3 separate regions of the Homo sapiens genome follow, and all the other regions are linked to region 1. The links are contacts of gene promoters, found by promoter capture Hi-C in human tissues and cell types (Jung and others, 2019). All regions are on one chromosome and are shown on one strand. The core of a region is centred on a gene start or on the middle of the fragment in contact, and the rest is flanking DNA. Distances in the headings are between cores, read along the strand shown. Region 1 holds the start of C1orf216 (chromosome 1 open reading frame 216). Region 2 overlaps TFAP2E (transcription factor AP-2 epsilon). Region 3 overlaps AGO4 (argonaute RISC component 4).

Region 1 (2,835 bases), core at 88-2,587:
CTGAAGCCGTCTTGATACTGCCCCAATCAATATTACATAAACAAGCACGGTTAGTTATGCCTTCCTCTGGGTCCCCACTGCGCTGGGTATACACTGTCTTATCCAACTTTGCATCCGTCCCTGGCATACATGGTCGACGATCAGTGAATGTCTATTCAACTGGCATTTTTGGTTTGTGGTAATGATCTTGTAATAGCAGTTTGTAATCTGGCTTGGACCTCCTGTATATATCCTCCATCATATTCCCCAGAGTCAGCCAGCATAGAGCCCTGAACCAGGCTGTCTGTGCATACAGGTACTTGCTAAGTGAGTGAATGGGAGAAGAGACTGCAGTGAATTTCCATGCTCAGGAATCCACTCTTGACTCCCCAGGGCTGGAAGAGCTGGGTTCTGGAAGAGCTGGGTTTGGTTCCCTTTCCTACCCCAGCCAGGGAGCCCCGCCTTCCCCAGTGACAAGCTTTTCTTCTGAGCCTGCCCCCTTCCCTCCCAATGCCTCTGGAACACAGCCACTATCTTGCGGTCCCCGTCCCTAGCTTGCTCCATTCTGAGGCCCTGGAGGGAGGGCATACCACACCACTCTTCTCTCCTCCATAACCTGCTTCTAACCAAAATTAGGATTTGAACTGACAAAGGGATTCTACTGACCAAACAGCACTGGGATTAGAACAATTGAAGAGCATGAAGAGGAAGGGTATTGTAAGTGGAGCCGGCACTGGAAGGCGCTCCATAGGTGGCATGGACCCTCCCCACCCCCAGCAATGGGCAGAGAAGTCCTGGGGAGAAGGGTGTAGGAACAGTTCGTTTCTAATCGCCCTCTAAGCAAGGCTTGTGGGAAGGTGCCTAGAGATCTCCCCTCGCCCCAATTTTTTATTTTTCCTATACTTGGATGGGGCCGTGAAGGAAGCTGGGATGGGGTGGGGGTGGCGCTAGGGATCACAGGGTTCTCAGAGATAGTAAAATGAGAACCCCGACACGCCAGGACTAGGTCTCCGCCCAAACAGGAGGCAGCCTCCTTTTCTGGCCTTGCGGGAGTGGGAGACCACCCCAGGAGACAGAGACCATCCTTCCCTAGTCTCCTCGAAGGAGGCCACTGTGACTCCCCGCTTCCCGCGGCTGAGCCCCAAGCCCCACCCCGCCTCGGGCCCCAGACTCGGACTCACGGCGTAGAGGCGCCCGCTCCGGCGCGTCTGGCTCTGGCTCCGCCCGGCCCTGGTGGTGTCTAGTCCCTGGGCTGGGGGTTCCTCGGCCTGGGCGTCTCCGCGGTCCAGGCGTGGGTGCGGGGCTCCCGGGCAGCGCGCCCAGCCCCAGTCCCGGACTGCGGAGTCAGGCGGCGTCTGCGCAGCAGGGCGGAGCGACCGGTCCCACGTGGGCCGGTTCGGTTTTCCGCGGAGCCCCGCGCCAGGCCCCTGCGCCGGAACCGCTTCGCCCCCGCGCGGGGCCGCGTTGACCCAGGCCTTCCAGGTCCGGTGCTCTCTCCTATTGGCATTCGCTGGGCCCTTCCCATCAGTTAGCCTCGCTGCAGACACCGTGCCATTTTCAAGTGAAATCTGATTAGTCACCACCTTCCGGCGTTAAACTCCTCAATGGCTTCCCCACCGCCGGGACAACCCCTAAGGCGGTAGCCGCGGGGCTCTGTGCGTCCTGCCCTTCGTCTGCCTCTCCGGCTTCGTCCTCTACCCTCCCTCTCCGCAGTTACCCTCCCACACGCCCCTTTCCGCCACGCGGCTTTGGCACGCACTGTTCCCTCGGTCTAGCATTCTCTTCCCCCTCTCGACTTACTCCTATTTCAGATCTCTTCTCGGAGAGATCTCTGACTCCCTAGATCACGTTCGTTCCCCCCTTTATGTCAGAGCACATTCCTTTTCTTCATAGCATTTATCACAATTTGGAATTATATATTCCTTTTTGTGCTTACTTGACTAAAGTCACTGAGGCCGGGTGCGGTGGCTCACGCCTGTAACCCCAGCACTTTGGGAGGCCGAGGCGGGCAGATAACCTGAGGTCAGGAGTTTGAGACCAGCCTGGCCAACATGGTGAAACCCCATCTCTACTAAAAATACAAAAATTAGCCGGGCTTGGTGGCGGGCGCCTGTAATCCCAGCTACTTGGGAGGCTGAGGCAGGAGAATCGCTTGAACCTGGGAGGTGGAGGTTGCAGTGAGCCAAGACTGCACCACTGCACTCCAGTCTGGGCAACAGAGTGGGACTCCGTCTCAAAAAAAAAAAAAAAAAAAAAAAAAAAAAGAGAGAGAGAGAAAGAAGATCCAAGCCTGGGACAGGGCTCAGGGCTGATGTCCTGTACCCGGGACGGGGGCTCTCCGCAGGACACAGAGCCCACCCATGATGCCTGTGAAGTGGGTACCAGTGCTTTTGCCCAGGTGAGGAGGAACAGCGTGATAAAAAAGGGTCTTGGGTTCCAAACTCCAGTGGATTCTTCTCAGAGCTCCACTCTACTGAAGCTTGACCCCCCTCACTCTTTTGCACCCTGGGGAAATGTGAAGTTGGGGGCCCTGTTTGGAATAAAAGAGAACAGAGTTCAGTAATTGCTGACCCTAATATATGAGGTGCCCTCTTCCAGTTTCAATTTGATTCCAAGTCACCATTCTGCAACCTAGAGACTAATTGGCAAATTAAATCACACCAAGAAATCCTATATGCAAAAACAGGGAAAATGGAAAAGAAATTTTTATGATTATGATGACTATTTTAAAAGGGAAAAGGAAATAAGAAGGAGAAGGCAGAAGTAATTCAAACTTTGCACACTCCTCCAGCTAAGAAAATACAGGTGGAGACGTCAGCCCCATTTCTACATCAGATCCTGTGGCCTAAGTCTTCT
Region 2 (2,835 bases), core at 248-2,747, 130 kb before region 1:
TTTAATTTTTTTTTTGCATTTTTAAAAATTATCTTTTTTTTTTTTTTCATAGAAACAGGGTCCCGCTATGTTGCCCAGGCTGGTCTCAAACTCCTGGCTTCCAGTGATCCTCCTGTCTTGGCCTCCCTAAGTGCTAGGGTTACAGGAGTGAGCAACTGCTCTCTTTTTTTTTTTTAATTAAAAAACTTTTTAGAGATAGGTCTCACTAAGTTGTTCAAGCTGGAGTTTGGTGGCTATTTACAGGCAAGATCATAGCACACTGCACCCTCGAACTCCTGAACTCAAGTGATCCCCCTGCCTGAGCCTCTCGAGTAACTGGGACTACATTCTCATGCTACCATACCATGCTATTTTCTTAATAATATCTTTTGAGGTGCAAAAGTTTTAGACTTTGATGAAGTCCAGTTTATCATCATTTTCTTTCTTTCTTTCTTTCTTTTTTTTTTGAGACCAGTCTCACTCTGTCGCCCAGGCTGGAGTGCAGTGGCGCTATCTCAGCTCACTGCAACTTCCGCCTCCCGGGTTCAAGCGATTCTCCTGCCTCAGCCTCCCAAGTAGCTGGGATTACAGGTGAGTGCCACCATGCTGGGCTAATTTTTGTATTTTTAGTAGAGACAGTTTCACCATGTTGGCCAAGTTGCTCTTAAACTCCTGACCTCAGGTGATCTGCCCGCTTCAGCCTCCCAAAGTGCTGGGATTCCAGGAGTCAGCCACCACACCTGGCCTATCATTTTCTTTTATGGGCCTTGCTTTTGGTGTTGTATCTAGGAACTCTTTGCTCAACCTGAGGTCACGAAGATTTTTCTCCTAAGTTTTCTGTTGTTGTTGTTGTTGTTATTTGTATTTTTAGTAGAGATGGGGTTTTCCCATGTTGTCCAGGCTGGTCTCAAACTCCTGACCTCAAATGATCCACCCGCCTTGCCTTCCAAAGTGGTAGGATTACAGGTGTAAGCCAGGACGCCTGGCCTTCCATGTTTTCTTCTAGAAAAAACTTGCAACTTTAACAAGGCTTCTTGGAGAGTCTGTTGCACACTTGCCTAGGTTCAGAAGTCAGACCATATCTACCACCTGCGGACAGAGTGCCTTGTCTGACAGGTTGAATAACCGGGAGCTCTTGTGTCTGCAGGAGTGTGTGTGTGTGTGTGTGTGTGTGTGTGTGTGTGTGTGAATGGCTTCTGCATATGTGACCAGCAGGACACCATTAGATCACTTCAGCTTCAGGAGTCACCACAGGGAATCCTGTTCTGTGTGTGTGGGAGACAAACTTTAGTGTCTCTGCTTTGCCCTGTGTGCTAGTTTAATTCCTACCTCCACCACTGCCCTTCTGTGACCGACCTGCTTCCCTAACCATGGATTCCATCCCTCTTGCCATTTTCAAGGGAAGAAGCTCTGAGAAAAAAAGGGACAGGTGGGGGAAGCAGCAAGGTCAGTCACTCATATACACAAACACATGAGCAATGTCATCTCTGCCCTTATATCTAGCAGCACCTATGTTTGCATAAATCTGGCATCAACAGGAGAAAGCACTTGCAAATATCCATATCTAGGCTACCACATTCCTCCATACTCCAGCTCATCCTCATTGCTGTATTTATCACAAGGGCATACAGTTCTTGTATACAGTCATCCTTTTTTATTTTTTTTGAGATGGAGTTTCGCTCTGTCGTCCAGGCTGGAGTGCAGTGGTGCAATCATAGCTCACTGCAGCCTCAAACTGGGCTCAGTCATTCTGTGGCCTCAGCCTTCCGAGCAGCTGGGACTATGGGCACATGCCACCATGCCTGGCTAACTTAAAAAAATTTTTTTTTGTAGAGATGAGGTCTCACTATGTTGCCCAGGCTGGTCTCAAACTTCTGGGCTCAAGTGATCCTCCTGCCTCAGTTTCCCAAAGTGTTGGGATTACAGGTGTGAGTTACCATGCTCAGCCAGCCTGGGCCCTAGGTTTTAATAGCAGTTGGATGGAGAAGGCTGCTCATCCTTTTTCTCCAACCCCTACTTCTGGTGAGGGGTGATGGGAGGGAAGACAGTTACTTTGCCCTTCTTTTTATTTTTAATTTATCAATTTTTTGTTTTTGTTTTTGTTTTTGTTTTTGAGACAGGGTCTCACTGTGCCACCCAGGCTGGCATGGTCAGCTCACTGCAACCTCTGCCTCTTGGGCTCAAGCAATCCTCCTACCTCAGCCTCCAGAGTAGCTGGGACTGCAGGCATGTGCAATCACGCCGGGCTAATTTTTGTATTTTTTGTAGAGACAAGGTCTCATTGTATTGCCCAGGCTGGTCTTGAACTCCTGGGCTCAATCCTCCCACCTCGGCCTCCCAAAGTGCTGGGATTACAGGTGTGAGCCACCGTGCCTGGCCTCATTTGTAGTTTTATTTGTTTGAAGTCAAGCTCGAGGTATAATTTTTTTATACATACAGTATAGTTCAGTTCGGGTTCCCAGAGCCCTTGCATCATTAGCTTATTTCATATTCACTCATGGCCACCTGTGCCAAGACCCTGCCCTCCACACACTCATGCTTGGTAGGGAAGACACCCATGGAAACAGACCAGGAAGGTTCAGTGCGGTAAGGCCAGGGATGGGGGTGAGAGGGAGCTGGGGGGCAGGGGAGAGAAGCTCTGCACAGGGGTTGGTGCCTAAACTCAGTAGAGTGGAGCAGGACCCCTGAGAACCGAAGGAGCACTGTGGGGCTCAAAGAGCTCACACCCTGGGAGTCACTACATCCCAGGAGGCACTTCACACTTGTTCCATTTGGCCTGTGCTGGGTTTTTAAATCTTTGAATCATTGCCAATGCTTAAAACTCCAGAGATTTCACAGAAAAATCCAGAATCCTAG
Region 3 (2,835 bases), core at 153-2,652, 130 kb after region 1:
GCCTGACCACAGTTTGGCACTTTGATGACTAATTACTTTTTTTTGTTTTTTGTAGGTAGGGAAAAGTGGCAATGTACCAGCAGGCACTACAGTGGATAGTACCATCACACATCCATCTGAGTTTGACTTTTACCTCTGTAGTCATGCAGGAATTCAGGTAATTTGGAAGCTGGTTCAGATCTTTGACTTGATAGGGAGATGTTTGCAAATTCAGCAACTAGCTTGAGTCGACTTGTTATTTAACACCGTGCCTAACTTTGTTAATGCTTGTATCCTAGAATTATCTTTTGGTCTAGGTATCTGCTTGTAGGTGTGCTAGGCAGAAGTATTTCTGAGTTTAAGGAGTAGGTTTCAATTATTTTCTCTTCTCGTGTCATGTCAGAAATATATTAATCAGGCCAGGCATGGTGGCTCACGCTTGTAATCCAATCACTTTGGGAGGCCGAAATGGGCAGATCACCTGAGGTCAGGAGTTTGAGACCAGCCTGACCAATGTGGTGAAACCCCATCTCTACTAAAAAAAACAAAAATTATCTGGGCATGGTGGCGTGCACCTATAGTCCCAGCTACTTGGGAGGCCGAGGCAGGAGAATTGTTTGAAGTCCAGAGGCGGGGGTTTCTGTGAACCAAGATCGTACCACTGCACTCCAGCCTAGGTGACAGAGTGAGACTCCATCTCAAAAAAAAAAAAAAAAAAACAAAAACAAAAAACGAACAAAAAAAAAACATTAATCATAAAACTCTCTCCTCAGGGAACCAGCCGTCCCTCACATTACCAGGTCTTGTGGGATGACAACTGCTTCACTGCAGATGAACTCCAGCTACTGACTTACCAGCTGTGTCACACCTATGTGAGGTGCACTCGCTCAGTCTCTATTCCAGCCCCTGCATATTATGCCCGGCTTGTAGCATTTAGGGCAAGGTATCATCTGGTGGATAAAGATCATGACAGGCAAGTTTCTTAGGCACAATAAAGTCTCTTTATATTTTAGTAGCATGTTAAAAAAAATGAGCTACAATAGAAAACTTTTTTAAGGATTTAAACTTTCAGAGTTTAAATTGTAAGAAGCAAATAAAATTGCATGTGCCTCTGAGAGCTTGTAATGTGACTTTTGGTCCAAGAAGTGCTCAGGCTTGTTTATACTTGTGTTGTGTCTCTAAAGGAGTTTAATTTGGAGCTGCTTGTGGTTCTCCCATGGAGCCAAATGCATTTCAGTTCTGCTCAGGTCCTAAGTAGCCTCAAAAAGTGGTCAACACAGTACCCTGGCTCCGGTCAAAGTAGTCACAGGGCTGTGGATTCCACTTCATGCAAGTGAGGAGGCCTGACCAGTTCACTTTGCTTTTGGTACATTCTGGAAAAATACCCCAGAGTGAACCTGGATGTGTGTGTGGGAGTGGGGGCACAGATGATTCTCACTCTCAAATAGGCATCTCAGGAGAATCAGAGAATCTGTTATTTTGACCTATTCCTGAGCTACTATTAAATAGTTACACAAGCTCTCTGCATTAATTTTCTTTTCCAAATGACCATCTGTGAAGTGTAGCAGTTTCTGGGCTCTTCCCCAAGTCTGAATTCAGCTGCTAAATAGTAGACATTCCACTGCAAGTCTATTTCTGTAAGGGTTGAAAATACACTATTATGGAAAATGTCCAACTGTGGCTTTGTACCTTCCATTCCGTAATGTGCTTTCATTTATTCGGCATATTTATTAGGTATTGACTGTGTGCCTAGTACTGTGCTAGGTGCTAGAATTACTAAGATGAGTAAGACATGTTTCTTGTCCACGGGGATTTTATGTTTCAGTATGGGAGACAATACAGGCAAATATACAACTGACAAGTAGCCCAAGTCAGTACAGATAAAAGTGCAATGGGACACCAGAGGAGAGGCTTTTAGAGAAGATTTCATAGCTGGATGGATAGAATGGCTCTACAAAAAAGAGAAAAGAATTTTCAGGGCAGAGAGAACAAGGGACACAAAGGGGAAAAAGCAAGTGGCATGTTTGTACAGTAGCAAATTTTCTTTGGCTGGAGGATATTAAAGGGGAACAAGCAGGTATGAGGCTGGAAAAATATGTTAAAGCAAGACCGTGTTTGTTAAATGTAAAATGCTGTTCCTAGGATAGAATAGACAGGACTTAACAGTTAATTGGATATGCATGTCAGAGGAGAGGGTGAAGTAAAAGATGGCTAAGATTTTGAGCCTAGATGATAAGGATAATAATCACTTAAAGAGAAAGTCAGAAGAGGGATGGGGATTTACAGCTTGTCAAGCCCTTTATATCACATGGTATCCTTAAGTAGTATGTTTAGAAGTTGTTGTTGTTACTCCGAAAGACCAAAGTTCAGAGGAGTTATTATGTGTCCAAGGTTATATAGTTAGTGAAGGGAAGACAAGAAGAGACTGGTGGCACAATAGCATTTGCTGGGAATTTCCTATGTTCCATCACTATGCTAGGTACGTAGATGCATTCATTCAACTAATGGTTTATTGAGACTTTGTTGTATTATGTGCTAGACACCAAGGATACAGTGGTGAGCAAGGTGGACAAAATTGCTGCTTTCTTGGAGTTTATATCCCAGTGGGAAAATAAATAATTACCCAAGTAATAATTTAATTTCAATTGTGTTTAGTACCATGAAAGAAAAATATAGGATTCTGTTAAAGCATGTTCCAGGTGGCTCTGACCTGGACCTTAAAGTCAAAGAAGATTTCTGTGCAGAAAAATGACATTTGACTGAAGCCTAAAGAAATTAGCCAGACATAGTGGGCAGTGGAAATCTTTATATGGATACTGTTAAGGATTGTGTCTTTGCAGACATTATATTATTTAA

The links. Contacts are between HindIII fragments. The study calls those that stand out against the background at their distance.
Region 2: a fragment that was not itself captured here is called in contact with the fragment with the promoter of C1orf216 in region 1 in 2 of the 25 tissues and cell types used here (dorsolateral prefrontal cortex and spleen).
Region 3: a fragment that was not itself captured here is called in contact with the fragment with the promoter of C1orf216 in region 1 in 2 of the 25 tissues and cell types used here (H1 embryonic stem cells and hippocampus).

What each region holds. Positions count from the first base shown.
Region 1 is chr1:35,717,547-35,720,381 of GRCh38, forward strand. C1orf216 (chromosome 1 open reading frame 216) reads right to left here and starts at 1,338. Exons shown (of 2, transcript NM_152374.2): 1 at 1,161-1,338. It also overlaps a transcript of CLSPN not described here. RefSeq lists a silencer at 1,070-1,499. The HindIII fragment of the contact is 4,693 bases long and covers 1-2,835 here.
Region 2 is chr1:35,582,476-35,585,310 of GRCh38, forward strand. The region is part of intron 3 of TFAP2E (transcription factor AP-2 epsilon); the gene reads left to right. Among named protein-coding and RNA genes, the nearest start is that of TFAP2E-AS1, 6.0 kb to the left of the region's middle. The HindIII fragment of the contact is 9,807 bases long and covers 1-2,835 here.
Region 3 is chr1:35,850,102-35,852,936 of GRCh38, forward strand. It overlaps AGO4 (argonaute RISC component 4), which reads left to right. Exons shown (of 18, transcript NM_017629.4): 16 at 56-157; 17 at 753-952. Among named protein-coding and RNA genes, the nearest start is that of AGO1, 32 kb to the right of the region's middle. The HindIII fragment of the contact is 6,144 bases long and covers 1-2,835 here.